7 separate regions of the Homo sapiens genome follow, and all the other regions are linked to region 5. Evidence: promoter capture Hi-C in 16 types of primary human blood cells and fetal thymus (Javierre and others, 2016). All regions are on one chromosome and are shown on one strand. The core of a region is centred on a gene start or on the middle of the fragment in contact, and the rest is flanking DNA. Distances in the headings are between cores, read along the strand shown.

Evidence for each region. The method cuts DNA at HindIII sites, captures the fragments that hold promoters and counts their contacts. A CHiCAGO score of 5 or more calls a contact.
Region 1: a fragment that was not itself captured here is called in contact with the fragment with the promoter of MSL2 in region 5 in 3 of 17 cell types (total B cells, non-activated CD4 T cells and naive CD4 T cells); the score reaches 6.5 in total B cells.
Region 2: a fragment that was not itself captured here is called in contact with the fragment with the promoter of MSL2 in region 5 in 3 of 17 cell types (total CD8 T cells, non-activated CD4 T cells and activated CD4 T cells); the score reaches 8.0 in total CD8 T cells.
Region 3: a contact is called between a fragment that was not itself captured here and the fragment with the promoter of MSL2 in region 5, in 1 of 17 cell types (total B cells). The highest score is 8.2, in total B cells.
Region 4: a contact is called between a fragment that was not itself captured here and the fragment with the promoter of MSL2 in region 5, in 2 of 17 cell types (fetal thymus and total B cells). The highest score is 6.6, in fetal thymus.
Region 6: a fragment that was not itself captured here is called in contact with the fragment with the promoter of MSL2 in region 5 in 2 of 17 cell types (total CD8 T cells and fetal thymus); the score reaches 9.6 in total CD8 T cells.
Region 7: a fragment that was not itself captured here is called in contact with the fragment with the promoter of MSL2 in region 5 in 2 of 17 cell types (non-activated CD4 T cells and naive CD8 T cells); the score reaches 6.3 in non-activated CD4 T cells.

The regions. Positions count from the first base shown.
Region 1 is chr3:132,717,379-132,720,078 of GRCh38, forward strand. It overlaps NPHP3 (nephrocystin 3), which reads right to left. Exons shown (of 27, transcript NM_153240.5): 2 at 2,327-2,452; 3 at 1,616-1,766. NPHP3-ACAD11 (NPHP3-ACAD11 readthrough (NMD candidate)) reads right to left here. Exons shown (of 45, transcript NR_037804.1): 2 at 2,327-2,452; 3 at 1,616-1,766. Among named protein-coding and RNA genes, the nearest start is that of NPHP3-AS1, 3.0 kb to the right of the region's middle. The HindIII fragment of the contact is 846 bases long and covers 949-1,794 here.
Region 2 is chr3:139,339,964-139,342,669 of GRCh38, forward strand. It overlaps LOC124909439, which reads right to left and starts at 910. Exons shown (of 2, transcript XM_047449421.1): 1 at 607-910. The coding sequence starts at 735. The HindIII fragment of the contact is 1,281 bases long and covers 749-2,029 here.
Region 3 is chr3:132,662,059-132,664,758 of GRCh38, forward strand. All of the region lies in intron 1 of UBA5 (ubiquitin like modifier activating enzyme 5), which reads left to right. All of the region lies in intron 26 of NPHP3-ACAD11 (NPHP3-ACAD11 readthrough (NMD candidate)), which reads right to left. Among named protein-coding and RNA genes, the nearest start is that of UBA5, 3.1 kb to the left of the region's middle. The HindIII fragment of the contact is 4,577 bases long and covers 1-2,700 here.
Region 4 is chr3:132,414,398-132,417,102 of GRCh38, forward strand. No RefSeq gene overlaps it. Among named protein-coding and RNA genes, the nearest start is that of DNAJC13, 1.8 kb to the right of the region's middle. The HindIII fragment of the contact is 2,653 bases long and covers 69-2,705 here.
Region 5 is chr3:136,194,951-136,197,668 of GRCh38, forward strand. MSL2 (MSL complex subunit 2) reads right to left here and starts at 1,385. Exons shown (of 2, transcript NM_018133.4): 1 at 22-1,385. The coding sequence starts at 163. RefSeq lists enhancers at 173-242, 293-342, 342-1,088, 393-462, 1,089-1,835 and 2 more and a silencer at 803-1,192. The HindIII fragment of the contact is 2,546 bases long and covers 1-2,465 here.
Region 6 is chr3:139,391,024-139,393,887 of GRCh38, forward strand. The region is part of intron 1 of COPB2-DT (COPB2 divergent transcript); the gene reads left to right. Among named protein-coding and RNA genes, the nearest start is that of COPB2-DT, 2.7 kb to the left of the region's middle. The HindIII fragment of the contact is 933 bases long and covers 943-1,875 here.
Region 7 is chr3:140,944,079-140,946,778 of GRCh38, forward strand. All of the region lies in intron 1 of SLC25A36 (solute carrier family 25 member 36), which reads left to right. Among named protein-coding and RNA genes, the nearest start is that of SLC25A36, 3.6 kb to the left of the region's middle. The HindIII fragment of the contact is 4,988 bases long and covers 1-2,700 here.

The DNA of each region.
Region 1 (2,700 bases), core at 122-2,621, 3.5 Mb before region 5:
ACAAAATTAATGTCTGAATCAATAGCTACTTATGAACATGATGATTTTCTAATCAATTATATTTGTCAGAATATCTACATCCTTGATAACCTTAAGTAAATGGTTATTTGAGCTAAATCTCTGGCAAAACTGAGCTTACTATTTGTAGCTCTTTGAATCTCACATGGGTGACATTCCCCCTCAAGTGTTCCTTCTTCATGTTTAAAACAAAAATGAAAAAAGACCTAGAAAGGAATTTGTTTCTAACTTGCCAAGACAATTACAATAGTTTTGAAACACTGTACATTTGAGTATGTCAATACTGAAATAATCACTAAGACTTGTGTTGGGGTATAAAAGAGCATTTTCTCAGCTACTCTTGGCCATTAAGAATCTTTTTTTTTTTTTTTTTTTTTTTTTGAGATGAGTCTGGCTCTGTTGCCACACTGGAGTGCGGTGGCGCGATCTTGGCTCACTGCAACCTCCACCTCCTGGGTTCAAGTGATTTTCCTGCCTCAGCCTCCCGAGTAGCTGGGACTACAGGCACGCACCACCATGCCCAGCTAATTTTTGTATTTAGTAGAGACGGGGTTTCACCATGTTGGCCAGGATGGTCTTGATCTTTTGACCTCGTGATCCGCCCGCCTTGGCCTCCCAAAGTGCTGGTATTACAGGCATAAGCCACCGTGCCCGGCCTTCATTTTTTTTCCTTAAAAGTTAGCAATAAAAATTCCAGGATGTTGGTCAGATTCCAATGATACTACAATGAAAATTAAGAAGGAACTGTCAGTTACCATATTTTACTCCAAAATGCATCCATTTGTGAGAATATACTTACAGTTCATTACAAATGGGAGAGTGACTACATTTTTCCACTGCATTTTAAAATAGAATATTTTTCTTTTTTCAGTATCAATCACACTTTAACATTTTCTTAGAATATGTAAACCCTTTCACTCTGTGATTTCAAGCTTTTATTTCCAGAAAACATGTTTCATTTGTTTAATTATAAAACAAATACTTTTTGAATAGTTCACAAGGCTATACTGGAAACCACTCAGTGAACTATAAGGCAAGTATTCTAAATGATAGTTGCAAAGAATACATCATTATGTAAAGAAATAACATTGCAGAGACTAGTAACTCCAATATCCATTCTCCTCTTCTTTCTTCAGTAACAGAACACTACATTTTAGTTGGACACATGTCTGCCTGGCTGCTGATTACACTATCCAGTCTTCCCAGTTATAGTTCTGACTAATGGGATTTGAGAAGTGATCTTAGGTTGTACCTTCTGGGAAAGGAACGTGTTCTCCCCTTCCTTCTTTCCCTTGGCTAAAATGCAGATGTGCTGGTGGGAGCTGGGGTAGATATCTTAGACTAGAGAGTAAAAGTTATGGGTTAGGGTTGGCAGAGTGACAAGGTAGAAGGAACTTCAGTCCCCAAATTCATACACTTCGTGGAGAAGAGGTGTCTTAGCAGCTGACAGAGAGAACACACGACACTATTTGCAACAGTAGTTAAAGCAATAACCTAATATAGATAAGTAAAAGAAATCTAGCAGAATTCAAAGTTGGCTCTACATGTCATTACAGCCATGTTGAAAGCTCAAAATATAAATAGGATATACACTTACCAGTGACATCTGTACAGTTGTCATCTGAATCAGACTCCCCAGGATCAAATACTTGGATACCCTGAGCCTGTAGCCTCTGAAGTTTGCTCTCCAACTCCCTCTTGGCCCTCAGTAAGTCCTGAATTTCATTTTCTTTGGTCTCCCTAAAAATCTTTAAAAAGAATAATTTTAATGTTGAAAGCTTTTTCATAATCAAAAAGTTGTGTCATCAACTTTAAGGGAAAAATATTTCATTCATAAAACCAATATTCATTTGGTCCTCGATTTCCTCTTTCATAGGGTGAATGTCCTAGTACCTTTACCTTACTGTTTTGCAACTGGAAGCCACTGGAATTCCAGCAGGATGCGTGTCTGTGGTGTGGGTCTGTCATGTGCACTGCATGATGTTTAGGAAATTTGTCTCTCTCCCACTAAATACCAATAATACAACATCCCTAAACATTTCCAAATGCTTTTCCCCATATGGAAACGCTTTCCTTTTTTTCGAAATTACTATTAAAATGTTCACTTTCATACGTTTTTCTTTGAAATGATCTCAAGTTTACCACGTCCAACTCAAAAATGTGAAAGTGCTCTACACTAATTCTTACAACTTTCCTGAATCCTACATGACTTACTTCTATTTATTCATCGCATTATATATTATATATACTTTTAGAATATACTATTTTATTCTATGTTGCTTTGGGGGTAAAAATGTAAGGAATTTACCTTGAATTGCCTTTTAACTTTATCTCTGTCATGTTCAAATGTTGCTGCTCTCTCCATTGCTTGGTATTTCGCTTCTAAAGCACTTTCTTTTTCTCGAAGTATCTTCTGATACGTTTTTTGAAGTGCCTAGAATAATTTACCTTGTTATTTCCTAACAAAAATAGTCTTGCTCCTCAATTTTACATTCTTATATATATACATATATATATATATATGTTACGTATCTTAGAATTTTAAGTCTACTTATTATTTTACCAATTATCAGGAACTTCATGTTGCCATTTTATTCAAAACATGATGGAAAAAAACCGCAACCATGCTTGAACTACCACAAATAAAGACCAACATTAAGCTTTCAATGGAAATTAACTTTT
Region 2 (2,706 bases), core at 139-2,638, 3.1 Mb after region 5:
CCTCACACAGGCTTCCAGGAATGTCTTCTGATGTTTCCCCTCTTTCTCTGGAATTATCTCCTCTTCTGCACTGCTACTGACTGTCCCACTGCTCAGCAGGTTGCATCCCAGCCATGTGCCCAGCCCCAGCAGATACTTCAAACTGCTCATTCCTATAGCTCCCAACACAACCGTACCTCTTCTCGACCAATGATTTTGCTTTCCAGTGCTCAGAAAAAGGGACAGAGAGGCAGGAAGGCTCTCTGATTCTCTCCCCAAAACGTATCCACTCTAACCATCCTTAACTCCTGGCCTACTGGTGCAAAGGCTCCTTTGCATCTACTACCAATGCCTCCACTTAGAATCTTCATCCCCTGAAGCTTCCTCAGGGATCCACAACATCACTTGTCCCTTCTCGTTACTGGATCTTTGGTTTTTTCCTTGCTACCAGTCCCTTCTCAGCACACAAAGGGGAATTTCGGCCATGGAATTTGTGTCTCTGTAGGAACATGTAAGAGGTTTGGACTTTGAATAGGGGCCAGAAGAATAAAAACTCTGGGTGAAGTCAAAAGTGGGGTGGATGTGGACCTTTTGGGAGGCCTCAAGGATAGGGAATTGAAGACTTACAGAAGTCACATGAGTGTGGTTGCTGGAGACCGCAGGGGTTCTTGCGTTGTCCAGACTGTCACCTTTCTTCCTTGGGCTCTGTTCTTCCTCTCTCCATTCCTCTCCCTGACTTTTATCCCCTAACCCCATCTTGACTTCTAAAAGCTTAGGATAAAATATATCTTTTAAAAAACAGAAGTCCAGACCCTGTTAAATCACTGAGAGTGGGATAAGGCACTCCCCACTGAGGCATCACTATACTTTTGTTTTACAAATAATAGAAAACCATGCTTGCTCCACAGAGCTGGTGAAGATATGACCTAATGAATCCTAACAGTAGCTGCAGCCAGATAGCCTTGGGACTGTCAGTCAGAGGGCCAACCCTCCCCAACCCCCAGTGGTGAACAGAACCCCACCCAGGCCAATCAGCCTCTCTCACCAGGAACTTAGATTGGATGGAAGGCAGGGAGTTGGAACCAAGCCATTAGGACTGCAACCTCCTGGAGAGATCTCTTGAGTTCCTGCCTCTGGGGTTCTTGGAGCTGCCATCTTTCAAGTCCTTCCTGAGGCTTGGCTGTTGAGCTTTTTCTTGAATTCTGTGAGATATTCAGTATCCTTCCAATTACTCCCATTTCAGTTTTACTCAGGAAAGATTTGTTTCTTGCAACCAGAGTACTTCTGAATACCATCCTCAGAAAGTAACTGACTTGGGTGCCATGGCTCATGCCTGCAATTCCAGCACTTTGGTAGGCTGAGGCGGGCAGATCACTTGAGCCCAGGAGTTCAAGACCAGCCTGGACAACACAAAAATTAGCTGGGCATGGTGGTGTGCACCTGTAGTCCTAGCTACTTGGGAGGCTAAGGTGGGAGGATTGCTTGAGCCCAGGAGGCAGAGGTTGCAGTGAGCTGAGATCATGCTACTGCACTCCAGCCATGGTGACAAAGTAAGAAAGACCCTGTCTCAAAAGAAAAAAAAAAACGGAAAAGAAAAAAAGAAAGTAATTGACTTGCCACCACACAACCTTCTCACACCATCTTTATGAAACACCAGACATCAGATCCTGAAAGTACTTTATTCTCAAAGTTTGCAAGATAAGTATTGTCATTATGCCCATTTTGCAGGTGAGGTACTGGGGCTCTGAAAGATGTGGGCATCTGCCTGAGGTTATAGCTTAAACCAGGAATCTTCATTACTCCATATCAGTAAAACTCACTGTACCCCAAGTAAAAGAGGTCATTGAAAGGAAAGTGGGAAGCTCTCTGGCCAAGACACCACCTTTCTCCATCTCTCTCCGTACATATTCTCCCATCTCTGCTTCTGAGGATCTGCTCCATTTTCCTGCCTCTCTCTGCAGAGTGGCTTTTCCCTGCTCACTCATCAGTGAGCACATTGCTGAAAAAGGCTGCTTCAGCCCAAACCCTAAATACTTAGTTATTCACTTCAAGCTTCCACCGTCGACTATTCTATGTCTCATAGTTTGAATTATTGAGAAAAAATCTGCTTGGTGCCTGGTCATCTGGGGTAGGCTGAAGAATGCCCCCATACTTCCTCCCAAGTATAACTGCACTCTAATCCATGGAACTTGTGGATGTTACCTTATATGGAAACATGGTCTTTGCAGATGTGATTAAGTTAAAGATTTTAAAATGGGGATTATCTTGGATTATCAGGGTGGGTCAGTGATTATGCAATCACATACATCCTTATAAGAAGAAAACAGAGGAAGATTTGGCACAAATAGAAGAAGAGAAGCTGATGTGAAGATGGAGGCAGAGATTGAAATGATGCAGCCACAGGCAAAGGAATGTTTACAGTCATCAGAAACTGGAAGAGACAAGGGGCAGATTCTTCTCCAGAGATAGACTCTAAGGGGAGCAGAGCTCCCTTGATTTCAGCTCAGTAATACTGATTTCAGATTTCTCATGCGGAATTGTGAAAGAATACATTTTTGTTATTTTAAACCATAATATTTGTGGTAGTTTGTTATAGCAGCCACAGGAAACTAATGCTAATACAGCAGCCAATGGATTCATTCATCCTGCACTAAGTGTCCAATCAGCTGTGTCCAGGAGGATGTTTACAGGAAAAACATAGCCACTGAGGCCTGCTCCCTCAGCTAT
Region 3 (2,700 bases), core at 195-2,694, 3.5 Mb before region 5:
ATGGGTCATGAATTTAAGTTGTCTTTCAGACATTATTTAATATGAGATGATCCCTTGACATTGTAATTATAACAAAACTTTCAGAACTCAAGTCTAAATATGTAGTATTTTCTATCTGATTTGCACCATTGACTTTATTAAAATTGCTATACAGGAGATGGCAGTTTGATACCCAAAGCTGTTCACTGATATATGGAATTTTAATAAAGTTCAGCTTTAATTTTTTGAATTGTTCATACAGCAAATATTTACTGAGTACATTTTTGTCTCCAGTCCTCCTTGACAATATTATTTACTTTGTATTGAGTACTTATTGTGTGCAGACACTGTGAATATAAAGTAGACATGGTCTTTTCCCTCTAGAGCTTACCAGATGAGTGTGAGATAAATAGAAAAGTAAACATGCCATTGCAGTACAGGTGATAAGAATTATGATAAAGTACAGTGTTATTATTGATAAAGTACAGGTTATTGAATTATGATAAAGTACAAAAGGTTATAGGAAAGGGATATGTATGTGTTCAACACCATTTTAATTGCTTCAAGAGATACAAAAGAAATATAAAGCACCTGACTTTTGCTTCAGTTTGAGAGACTACATGGAGGTGGGATATTAAAAAACACAAGTAACCGTAAAATTATGTGTTATGGAATATAGTTATAAGCATGTGGAAAAATTGGAGAGGCTTTGAGATTAGAAAACCTGGTATCAAATCCTGGCTCAGAAACCCAGCTCAGAATACCACTTGCCAGTTAGCTGATTTTGGGCAGTTGATTAACCCAAACCGTTTCCCTCATCTGTAAAAGGGGGTTGCCATCCATGCTTCTCAGATTATTTAAAGATTGAAGGGAGCATCAAGGTAAGGATAGCAAATTCCTGTGATGGATCTGCCATCACTTTCTACCCAACCTCACTAAAGTGACAGTAAAGGAATTTTTTAAAAGAAACTCCCATTGAAAATATAAAGGGTTCGTATTAATAACTGATAGGGAGGGGTGGGTCCCTGTACTTGATTATAGTAACAATTTGGAAACTAGAGAAGGGATGGGTGAAGGTAACTGATTTAATAGATTCAGAGAAGTTTAATCTTAAGCTCGCAACCCAGTTTATTGCAAGAATCCCCCAAAAGGCTCAGGAATAGGCACAGGTACTTGCAGAACTTCAGGTAGGGCTAAAAAAAACTTTCAGTTGAAAATCTGTTGAAGAAACAAAAGCCCCAGATCCCCTACTCCACTGTGGGTAACTGGGCAAACACTCCTTCCCTACCAGAAGAGGAGAGTAGAGATTTCTTCATTAGAAAGAGTAAAATAGAAGATTTCCAAGAATAATTGGGGCAGGTCTTTGTACCTGAAGGAAGGGGTAAACTGATTGTTTACATGCTGAATGCTGTGACTGAATGTAAACTAAATGCTTACATACTGAGTGTCGAGACTCCCAGCCTTGCTTCTTCACTTCCAACAGCTGATCGTGGGGTTGGAACTCCAACTCAGGTTGGAGTTTGAAAGATTATTCTCTAGGGAATCTGATAGAGCCAAGAGGAAAGACTGAAAGACACTGACATTGTGGGTTTCTCAACTAAATAGTCTGGCCAGATGACCCTACAGTGAAGTCCAAAGTCAAACAGTTATTGCCTATATTGTTACCTTTATTAGTGTCCCACACTTAAATATGAACAGAACAAAGGATGAAAGAAACTTCTAACATGAAAGAAATAAAAATAGCAACTTGGATAGACTATGTAAGATAAACACATCCCCCTAAATTATCATTAGTATCCTTAGATGAGAGAAGATATGGTACAAATGATACAGGAACAAGGTGCAAAGTATTTAGATGATCAGGAATTCTTGCAAATGGAGATGGTAATAGAAATGAAAATCTTAATAGAAGTGTTGGAAAATAAAGTTGAAAGAAATCATCCAGAGAATAGAGCAGAAAACTAAAATAGTAGATAACTGGAGAAAGAAGATAAAGGACAAATCCAGATGGTTCAACTTCCAAATAATAGGAGTTCCAGATAGTCCAGGAAAAACAAACCAAACAAGGAAGTAACCAGATTCTTCAAGGACATTTCCCAGAACTGAAAATGTGAGTTTTCATTTTGAAAGAGTCCACTAAAAACTCAGCACAAGGGATGAGAACAGATTCACATTAAGGCACACTGTGAAATTTTACAAGCTAGGAGACACTGGAGCAATACCTTAAAATGTTGAAAGACAATTCTAACTTTAGACTTCTTTACCAAGTTAAACTATCGATTAAGAGTATATGTGTAGCTTCCCACAATTATATGCCCTTTGCTTTGTCATTTTTATAAAGAATATAATTTTGATAAGGAACATTTTCAGAAATGAAAGTTCTCAAAATTTACCTTTGCCGTACCCTTTGCAAAACTACTGGAAGATGTTCTTCTAACCACAGCAAGAGAGTAAGTTTAAAAATAATTGATGACAGTGTTTTAAACTGTCATGTGCATCAGAATTACTGGAGGGCTTGTTAAAGCAAATTGTTGGACTCCACATTCAAGATTTCTGATTCAGTGGGTGATTATAGGGTAGGGCCTAAGAAATTGCATTTCTATTAAATTCTCAGGTGGTCCTGTTGTTGATCCATAGACACTTTAGAACTAGTGAGCTATAGCATACAGGAAACAGTGGATTAATACAGAATAAAGAAATTAAGAGACTTTGTAGTATAAT
Region 4 (2,705 bases), core at 145-2,644, 3.8 Mb before region 5:
TCCTCCTGACTTGGCCTCCCAAAGCCTTGGGATTACAGGTGTCAGCCATCATGCTCAGCCTATTACCAAGCTTTAACAAGTATCATTAAATAATACTTTTTTTTTTTTTGAGAGTTTCACTCTTGTTGCCCAGGCTGGAGTGCAGTGGCACCATCTCGGCTCACTGCAACCTCCCCCTCCCAGGTTCAAGTGATTCTCCTGCCTCAGCATCCCGAATAGCTGGGATTACAGGTATGCACCACCAGGCCCGCCTAATTTTTTTATATTTAGTAGAGACGGGGTTTCATCATGTTGGCCAAGCTGGTCTCAAACTCCTGACCTCAGGTGATCCACCCGCCTCAGCCTCCCAAAGTGCTGGGACTACAGGCGTGAGCCACCGTGCCCGGCCTAAATATTTTTTTCTTTTAACACGTGTAATCAATATAAAAATTGCTAATGCAACATTTTACATTTTTTTGTAACAATTTTAATTTTTATTCTGTGTTCAGTAGCCACATAGGGCTAGTGGCTACTGTACTGAAAACATAGTTCAAGCATTGTTGAGTGGTATGAGTTCTTAAGGATTTACTTTGGATCTGGGCATTGATATAATTAGGAAGGTCAATTTAGCAGCAATGGGAATTAGATAAGCAAGTGTTTGACATTCTTGTGGGCTCTCTAAAGTCTTAGATCACTCCAGCCTTGTATGCTAACTTTGGAGACTGATAAAGGCTATTGGTGCCTAAAAGGCTGTGAAATGTATTTTTTAAAAAGCTGTGAAATATTTTAAGTGTACATCACATAATTTAGATTGTAAATTTGATACATCTGCACTATGAAAGTGTCAGAAACGCTAGTGCAAACTTTAATTATGAATAAAAAGACAAATCCAGAAAAAGAAGTGTGCATTTGTCACTCTTAAAAAAGAGTTGGGTGGGGAAAGGATCCAACTGATTTAACCTAATAGGGAAAGAAGAGACAAGTCCTACTCTCCCTGACTCTTGTATTTTGTTGTGGCATTTTAAGAAGGATCCAATTGTATGGATCCAATTAAAAGCAACCAGTGGTTGTGAAAAGGCTTGAAACTACATCTTGTGAACAATGGTTGAAAGTACTTTGAATATGGTTTCTTAAAATGAGTATCTGTAGCAGGGGTAGTTAGAAGGATATGCACGGGAGAGGGAGTGGGAAAGGGTGATAAGCTGTACTGATAAGTGCTTAAATGAATGTCACATACAAGAAGAAAAGAGCAAGAAACAAAGACAAAATAACTACTCATAGAAGAGAGTGCAAGTTGGCTGAATACAAGGAAAATGGCTTATAAAAATGCAATGGAAAAAGATGTCTTGTGAGGCAATTTTGCACTACAGAGGATGGGGACAATTCATGATGCCTAAGGCTCCTCTCAACACGAGAATTGATTTTATTGGTCTCAAATATTGAACAGAGAGGCAGTGTGGAGGTTGAACAGTTCACTGGCCTTGATGTTACAGGCAGGCCCTGTGTCTTAATCTTGGCTCAACCTTTAGGAGTTAGGTCACCTTTAGCAAGTCTCCTGGACTCTCTGGGTCTGCTGCTTCTCTAAAATCGAAATAATATACCCCACATTTACTTTTGGGATTACTGGAAGGCTTTGTAACCACATAAACACGTTTCTGTTTCCATGGGATAAGCCAATAAGGCCCCTTAACACAGCCCTCCTGTTTCTTTTTCCTCCTCCTCCCTTCCTACTCTATTTCGGGTTCTGTCTTCCCACACCCAGCTATTCCTAGTACCTTCCCTTACATGCACCTTATCTTACTGCTGCATTACAGAAAAGTCTAAGGATAAACACAAATAGTCTTTTTCCGCCCTAAGGTAGGGCAAAGGGTTAATAGAATCAAGAGGTAAAGTCTGTAAAAACCATTTTTCCACATTTTTTCATCCTGCAATCGCTGTCTATAAAATGAGCCAACTTGCTGAAGGGGACGCCAAGAAATCACAATTTCAGGACTGCCATGAAGAATGAGTATTCAACTCCTTATCAGAGACCTTTAACCCTTATACAATAATGTATCCATGCAGGTCACCCTACACTGCCTCTACTCTGAAGTCTGCAGCAGAATCACTATTTTTTTTTTAATCACTAATTTTTAAACTGTGGTCTTTACGGCTCAGATCTGGGAGTGGACATTGACCTTTCTTATTTAAACCATTGCCCACAGATAACACATAATTTCTAGCCGAATCCTTTAGTCCCAATATCCCCTCTTTTCACTGCCCTGACTTCCCTCTCAGGTGAGGTTCAGGAAGATGGTTATCTAGAGGGCACAGGTTCTGGGTTCAAATTACTTGGGTGCAAACATGAAATCCACTACTCTGAGGCTGGGCCTCAACTTATCTGCAAAACGAGGATGATTCGTATCTCAGAGAGTTGAAGATTAAGCAGCTTTAAGTAAACTTCTAAACACTTGATCCGGACACAATAAATGGGGCTACCAGAACTATCTTTCCAGCATTCCCACCTGCAAATGCCTTAGGCGTCTCTGAGAATTTGGTCTCTGAGACCTTCCAGAGCATCCATAACTTAAACCCTGCTCTGCTGTCGTTCAGGACGTCTCAATAGTAAATGAACCTGCTGGCTCCCAATCCAGCCAAACCAGGAGATAGGCTGAGGCTTCAGACTGCCTCGCAGATGCTCCATGGCACTTGACGGCAAGAGCTAAAAAGAGGTGATTTAAAACAAG
Region 5 (2,718 bases), core at 135-2,634:
GAACAATAAAAAGCGTCTCACCGCAAACACAGCACGAAAGGGACTGTCGGAAGTAAGGCAAGAGCCTGTTAATCTCAGTAAACGCCTTGGGGTCTCCGGGGTCGTAGTTGAGCACTAGGCGGCTCGCGGAAATGTAGAGAGCAGTAGCATTCACGGGGTTCATTGCAGACACTTCGACACCAATGGCTCCCGGTTGAAAAGAAATTCCGGATCCAACTTAGTAAGCAGCCAGGGAACGATGGCGAATTTGCAACAATTCGGAAGAAATCAGAGCCGAACCATTGGCCAAACAAGTAACCAAAATCCGTGCAAGTTTGTGGAGCTGAAACAATCCTCCCACACATGGGGCCTTGGCGCCCCTCCGTCCCTGAGACTTCCAGACCAAAAATATGAGAGAGAAACCAGCGTTCGAGTTCGTCCGGAGCGACCACAGAGCGCAGAACGCGGCGGCTTGGGCGCTCGGGGCGGGACTCGGAGCTCAGTCTAGCCCCGCGGCTCGGCAGGCGGCCTGCACTCGAGCTCCATCTCCGGACACGGAGGCGCCTCCTCAAGTCGAGCTGGCAGGCGCGGGAGCAGGCCCCGGCCCCGTCTGAGGCGCGGCACGCTTCTCCCGGGCTGCAGGGCCTCTTACTCCATCCCAGTACAGGGCGCGGAGGCGGCGGCGACGGCAAGGACGACGGTCGGGCAGCGGCTTCCCGGATCTAGTGCAAGACGCCGCGGCGGCGACGAAGGTTGATGTTGCGGCTGGCGGACGCCGCCGCCGCGCTCTCCATATCGGACGCGGGGCCCAGACTGCGCCCTGGCTCTCCGCCCCGTGGGTTGCAGCCCGCAGTTCCCCGAGGTGGCGAGGCGGGCGGGAGTCCTCAACCCGGAGGGGAAGGCCGGGGAGGAAGTGCGCGGGCCGCCGCCGGCGGGCGGGAGGGGGCGGGGGGCAAGCCCGGCCGGGCCGCGGCGGCGCCCCTCGCGCCTCAGTCGCACACTCCGGGGTCACCAGACTCAAGCGCCGCCCCCTCACTGCCCGGCCATTTTTTCGGCGCCACACACACAGACGACTCCTCCGCCGAGCACGACGGCCGCCGCCGCCCTCAGCACTCCCCGGCCGCGGAAGGCAAGCGCTCACACCGCCAGGCCCCGCCGCCGCCCAGCGCACACAGCAAGGCCCCGCCGCAGGCCCCTCCCCCGTGCCTCGCCGCCCTCACCCCGACTCCACGCGCCACTCCAGCTCGGTAGGGCCCGGGCTGCTGCGGCCTTAATGGATCCCGCGGGCTGTGTGGCGCCTCAGGCCTCTGCTGGCGGCGACGACGACCGTTACCCCAACGGGCAAAGCCACTGTCATCCCCGAGACTCCCCCGCCGCCGTCGTCGCTAGCGCTCGCACGCATGCGCAGAGCACACTCTCACCCCTCCCCCCTTTCCTCTCCCTTCGCTTCCCTTTTCCCTTGCTTCTCCTCTAACAACCCCCTCCACAGCCTCCCAGAGCTACCGGCTCACTCCACGCATGCGCAAGCTGCTACCTAGCTCCGCCGCCTTTCGCCCTTCCGCGTGCGCTTTGACCGCCCACCCAGAAAACCGGATAAACACATCAGCCTGCTCGCGCCAGTCCCTCACCGCTGCCAACCCACCCTGGGCTCACTGCGCATGCCTGGCTCTCCACTTCGACTCTCAGAATGGAGCATGCTCTCTGCGAGCCGACAGCTCTCTTCGCCCCTCCCCCACGTGCTCTCAAATTCCCTCTCCCAGGCATGTGGGCTGTGGTGAAACATTCGTTAGCTGGCACATCCTTCCCCAGTGTGGGCTGCAGGCTTCCCGCATTACACTGCTTCTGTGCCCGCCAACGCCGGGGCCCGACTTGGTAGCGCCATGTGGCGCTCTGCACTGGCCTGAACGCGGCCTCTCGTCCTGACTGACCGCGGTGTGAGGAAATAGCCGCGCCAGGCCCCAAGCCCCGCCCTCGCGGCCTTTCTCCTGGAACCGCTCATCCCGACCGCGGAAAGGGCGCAGCCTCGGCTGGCTGGCAGGCTCTCGCCGAGCCGGGAAGGCTGCAGTAGTCAACGTGGCTGCGCGCCCAGCAGGCGTGCGGACGGCTTTTGCCGGGTCGGGGCCGCGTTCCGCACCTCTCTGCGGTGGTTCGCAGTCAGAGGGCTCTAAGGCCCTGGCAGGCTGTATGTAAGCGTGGAGGCTCGAACCCACTGCCCCCTCCTACCCGTCGGACCCGCGCTGTTCCCACGGCCTCTGGCCCTTGGACTCGTGCGGCCTCACCTTCATGGGTGCCGATCAGGACTTCACCGAGCTCTCACCGGAACAGAGTCCTGTTTTAAAAACAAAACGAACTCCTTTTTTTTTTTTTTGAAAGACCTAGCTTTTTTAAAAGACCTAGCTCTTCTGTGTGAACAGATGTCTTGAAGAATGCGTGATCTTGCTCTAGAACAAACCCAAATCCTTGCAAATGTTTTGTTTTTTAAAACAAGCTTTTGCCTTTTGTTTTTGCAGGAGATCAAGGGCACTGGGATATAAATAAACAAAAGCCTGACTTAGTAGATGACTTCCCTCCCATCTCAAAGTACAAAACCTTTTTTTGAGTAGCACAAATAGTAACAGGCCATAGGAAGCATTTCTTATCTCTGTACACACCAAAGCTCCTCAGCATAATTTTTCATGCACAGTAGGTACTCTATACGTTTGCAAAGTGAAAATTATGATGCGTGTAAATCTATTGTGG
Region 6 (2,864 bases), core at 159-2,658, 3.2 Mb after region 5:
GGCAAAAAGAAAAATTATGTATTTGTGTGTGTAGATAATGATAATCAGAGGGAGATGATTTTGCACGAAATTATTTGGCTTTAGTAGGAGCCTTGAGCTAATGTGACTCTCTTCATGGGCCTCAGTTTTCATCATCTTAAAAAAAATCCAGCTACATGGTTTCTAAAGATCCTTCCATTTTTTTTTTTTTTATGTTTCTGTGGCATTCAATAGTGGAAAAAAGAGTCTGGAACTGGAGTTTAGTGCCAGCAGTGTGATCTTATGTAAATTGAGACTAATAATTCTAGTAATTGCATACTTTGCTTACTCTATGGAGTGACTGAGGATCCTGAGTTGAAAAAATTATATGAACTATACCTAATTTGCTTGAATAGTGGAACTTTCAATATTTCTAACTCCTGAATACTCTTGCACTTGAGAGAGTATTTTTGGATTTGGCACAGTACTAAGTGATACAAAATAAAATGATGTATCTCTATTGTCAAGGGGCTCAGCTGGGAATGCTTAAATCTTTGTATACCACTGGGCCACCTAAGGGTCTACCTAGCTGGTGTTGCGGGCCTGAACCCTCAAGTGTCATTCTTACTTGGACTATATCTTTTCTCATGTTTTCCACTGCAATTAGCCAAAATTAAGTCCTGCAATTGTAGACTGTAAATTCACTCTTTTAACCATTACATACTGAATGTGTACTATATACAAAGCACTATACTAGGTGCTGCCTTAAGATATTACCCATAGAATTTGGTGTTGGATTTTGGTTGAAATAAATTTTAAAGAAATAAAATTCTTAAATAGGAACTAATACATAACATTAAATATACACGTGTATTTCACTAGGCGTTCGACTGTGGGTTTAAATTAAAATCTTTTGTTTACTTGGTTTAGAGGAGACTGGAAGGTTAGGAAAAATAACCGTTGGGAAGAAAAGAAATATAGACAAGCTTAGCAGATTGGTAAAGGGTTTCCCAAGAGGTTGACTGCAATCGATTAACAGATCTTAAAGTCTTACCTAGTCAATTTCTATAATAGCTATTTCAGCCCTGCCTTTTTGCAGCAGCTGGGAGAATTCCAAGTGGGAATTCAGGTTGCAGTGCCTCTGTAAGTACCCTATATACACTGTTCCCTTCCCACCCTATTCCTACCTCTTCATAAGAAGTTGAGGAAAATAATTCGTTGAGAAAGAGTCAGGGTTTTTTGTTTATTATTTTATTTTATTTGTATTTATTTATTTATCTTGAGATGGTGTCTCACATTGTCACCCAGGCTGGAGTGCAGTGGCGCCATCTCAGCTCACTGCAACCTCCACCTCCCGGGTTCAAGCGATTCCCCTGCCTCAGTCTCCCCAGTAGCTGGGACTACGGGTGCACGCCACCACGCCTGGCTGATTTTTGTAGTTTTAGAAGAGATGGGATTTCACCATGTTGGCCAGGCTGATCTTGAACTCCTGACCCCAGGTGATCTGCCTGCGTTGCCTCCCAAAGTGCTGGGATTACAGGCTTGAGCCACCACACCCAGCCTTGTTTATTATTTTTAAATATACATGTGTTATCACTTAGCTAAGTGGTAAGTACTAGCACGAATAGGAACCTAGTTTCTCCCTTCAAAGGGGTTACAATTTATAAGCAGGAAAGGTTATTTATGCACAAATAATTGAATACCAGGCAGAATATGAGTACCTTCTGAGAGAAGTACCAGTAAAATACTCTGAAGATAAAATATCCAGCTAGGGAGATAAGTTTCATAAAGGAGGTAGAATCTGAGGTGGACTTTGAGGTGAAGAGTATACGGCATGTTTGAGAACCAAAAAAGGTCCAATTTGTTTGGAGAATGGTATTCATTTAGAAGAGCAGTGAGGGAGAAGGTTGAAGAGGAAGCTTGGGGCTAGAACCTGAAGATTTTTAAATCGGGAGAAATTGAGCTTTGAGTCAAGCAGTTGGGACTTACTGGGCCAGATAGGAAACCTGTTTATATCTGTACTCTAGATGATTTGTCTTTTGTTGATGTGTATGACACACTAAAAGAAGTTGAAACAGACTATATAAGTTTGGTGGAAGTGAGTGTGGAAATAACAGTAATAAGGAAAAATTTTTATTAAATGCCCACTATGTACCTACCTGCCATTGGAATATGTACTTTGCATACTGCAATTCATAAAGTAATACTAAAAGATAGGCATTATTTTCTCCAATTTATAGATGAAAAACAGAGGCTTAAATTGATTAAGTAGTATACCTCATGCCACATTGCTCATGACTGACAGACCTGAGATATGAACCTAAGTTATATTTAATGATACTAACATCTTTTTTTACTGGATTGTAATTTCTCCTTTTTTCCCTGAGAAGCTAGAATCAACTGGATACACAAATGCGTTTGTTGAATTGAGGGAGTGGGAGGCATCCTATTGCTGATGTTTTTAATCTAATGAACCCAGAAGAATATCTTTAATCAGAGGAAGATGTGGAGCCAGTGAATGATAGTGGAGCCAATGAAGGAACAATCAGAGAAAGAGAATCAGGAAAGAAGAAAAAGTGAAAGAAAAAGAAGTGGAGTCAGTGTAGGAACAATCAGAATAAGAGACCCAGAATAACTTTATGTCACAGAAGGAAAAGAAAGGGAAAATGTGACTGGGTGACTAGCATCTTGATAGCTTTAGAGAATTTAAGGAGGCTTAGTATTTGCCAAAACTATTGCCAATGAAATAAATGATTATGAGGACACTATCAGCCTTCAAAAAAGTTGAGTAATGGTAGGGAAGGCAAGTTTACAAAGGGTTTAGAAATTATTGGATGATAAAAAAAGTAGAGGTCATCAGTATAAACTATTTTACCAAGCGATTAGTGAAGAAAGGCAAATGTTGA
Region 7 (2,700 bases), core at 24-2,523, 4.7 Mb after region 5:
TTATATGTGGTTACATAAGTGAGTTCAGTAAAACACACCTTATCTTTTTAAAGGAAGCCCAGTATATTTTAAAAGAACCAAGAGTAACCTTTCACAGAGTATTTAATCTTAGGCAAGGGTTTTCCGAATATGGAGCCTTTAAGTTGTTTTTCTGATAAGTAGAATTGTAATATTCAAATATGTTTATCGGAATCCCACATTTCTAATAGCCTAGTAGCTGTATTGTTAAACACCAGCACTGGACCTTGGTTCTGGGTGAAATACTCACATGCATAACTCGTGCTTTCTTTAAGACACCCTTTGATCCCATTATGCTTTTGCCAGAGTTAATATTCAGAGTTTGTAAGGTCAGTAGTTAGGTTAATTGAGTTAAGGAACGATATCATGACAGCCTGTAAAAAAGGTGTAAATGTGATTTAATTTTAGCTGTACCTCTAATGTATGTATATAGAGATGAAAGCACTATTAAATGTATTTTTAAAGACTGATAGAATTGTACATTGTCTAGTTATTGTATCAGCTGCATATATCTACAGAGGCAGCTCATTTTTTTTCTATTTGAGGGAGATATTGTCTCAAATAGGAGCTATATACCTTAAGATTTTAAGTGGATGAAGTATTTTCTTTGCAGCTCTTATGACAGATAATTTAATATATGTAGTGAGTAAAATCAAAGATGATCTAAGAACTGTCTATTTTTATATCCTGGAGCTCATTCATTTGCTCAATCATTATTATTTATTCAGTAGGAAATTCCCATTTGGGTATAATGAACGATATTTGTTAAATTATTTCACCTGTTTGCTTGAAGATCAGGGCAGAAGTAGAATACTTAAAAGTATAATTAATGTGATTTATTTCCGCTTCACTCTGACCATATTTTTATTAGTCTCATTTCCTTAATTTTTACTACCTCTCCTTTTCCTCTGTCTTGCTCTGTTTAAGCTGCTATTACAAAATACCAAAAACTGGTGGCTTATAAATAACAAATATTTCTAACAGTCCTGAAGGCTGGGAAGTTCAAAATTAAAGCAGTAACAGGTTTTTTGATGATGGTCTACTTCCTCATAGAAGATACTCTCTTGCTGTATCCTCACGTAGTAGGAGAGGCTAGCCAAGATCTCTGGTGTCTTATAAAGGTACTAATCCCAAATGTCAGGGCTACAATCTCATGACCTAATCACCTTGAAAGCGTCTACCTCCTAATACTATCACCTTGGGATGTGAGTAGGATTTCATCTTACTAGTTTTGGGGGAGACAAACATTCAGACATCCTCCTTCCCTTTTTTTCCTTCTAAAAATGCATTCCGTTCTTCTTACTAATAGACTGCAAAACTAAGGGAAGTTTCTTATCCTGTTGGAGAATATTCTCAAATCATTTTTCTATAAATGAATTACTGTAGCACAGCAGCTACCATTTTTCTGCAAATGGATTAGTGTAGCACAACATTGTGGGTCAGGGATTCTCCTTCTTGAGACCCTTGTTGTGGTCTGAGAGTTTAAAACTATTTTCATAAAAATACATTATTGGCACAAATTTGTTGACATTTGTCCTGATGGTGCAAAAGCAATGATGGGTAAAACTGCTGATGCCTTAGCATGCATGAAGGCAGTGGCACCAGACTGTAGTCATCGTATTCACCTCCAGGTACTTGCAATTAAAAAAAAAAAAAAAAGCCAGTTTAACCTAAGAATGCTCATGAAGGAGTAAAAATACTAATTTTATTAAATCACAACCTTTGAATACCTCTATATTTAATATTTTGTGTGACAAAATGGGAAATAGACATGAAGTAACTGTATGCCGAAGTGTGGTTCTGCGTTGTTTCAATTGCAGGCTACACTAGCTTCTTTTTTTCATGGAGTCAGCCATGGGTAAAAAAGTCATTCAGATTTTAAAATAGACCAGTGGATTTTAATATAACAGTATGAAAAGTTTACTGGTATAGTTCAGATTCTACATTTCAGCTAACCTTTAAGAACCTACCACTTGTCTGGTTGTAATATAGTATTGAAGAATATCGACAACCGGACAGCAAGACAAGGGACTGTCTTGTCTAGTAATTGTTATCATTAACTAGAAGGCATTAAGTGCTGTGGGAAAAAAAATGGTGCACCTTAAAGGACTGTGGTAGGAGTGCACTCTAGTACTAAATCGAATGATGATGAATCTTACTGAGATGACATTTGAGTAAAGACTTGGAAGGGAGAGAATTAGCTATACAAAAGGAACTAGCCCCAGTAAGACCCTAGCCCTGGTAAGAGTGAGATAATGAAGCAGGTATGGCCAGAATGATAGAGCCTTCTTAAGCCTTTAAAGGACTTTGACCTTTTCTATTGAAATGGGAGGAGTCATAGAATTTTTAAAGGCTAATTGGTCTCTGCTAGACTATGCGTGGGACAGGGGCAGAAGTAGGGAGTTGATCAGGCTATTTCAATAATCCACTTGACTGATAATGGTGATTCAGACTAGGTTGGAAGCAATGGACATTGTGAGAAGTGGTTGAATTCTAGTTAGACTTCGAAGGTAAAGATAATAAGATTTTTGACATATTGAATGCAGAGTGTAGAAGAAGAGCGAAGAATAACTCCAGGGTTTTTAGTTTGGGCACCTGGAAGGGTGGAATTGCTGTCAACTGAGATGGGCAAGATTGCAGATGGAACAGAGTTGGGGTGAGGGGAGATCAGAAGCTCCATTT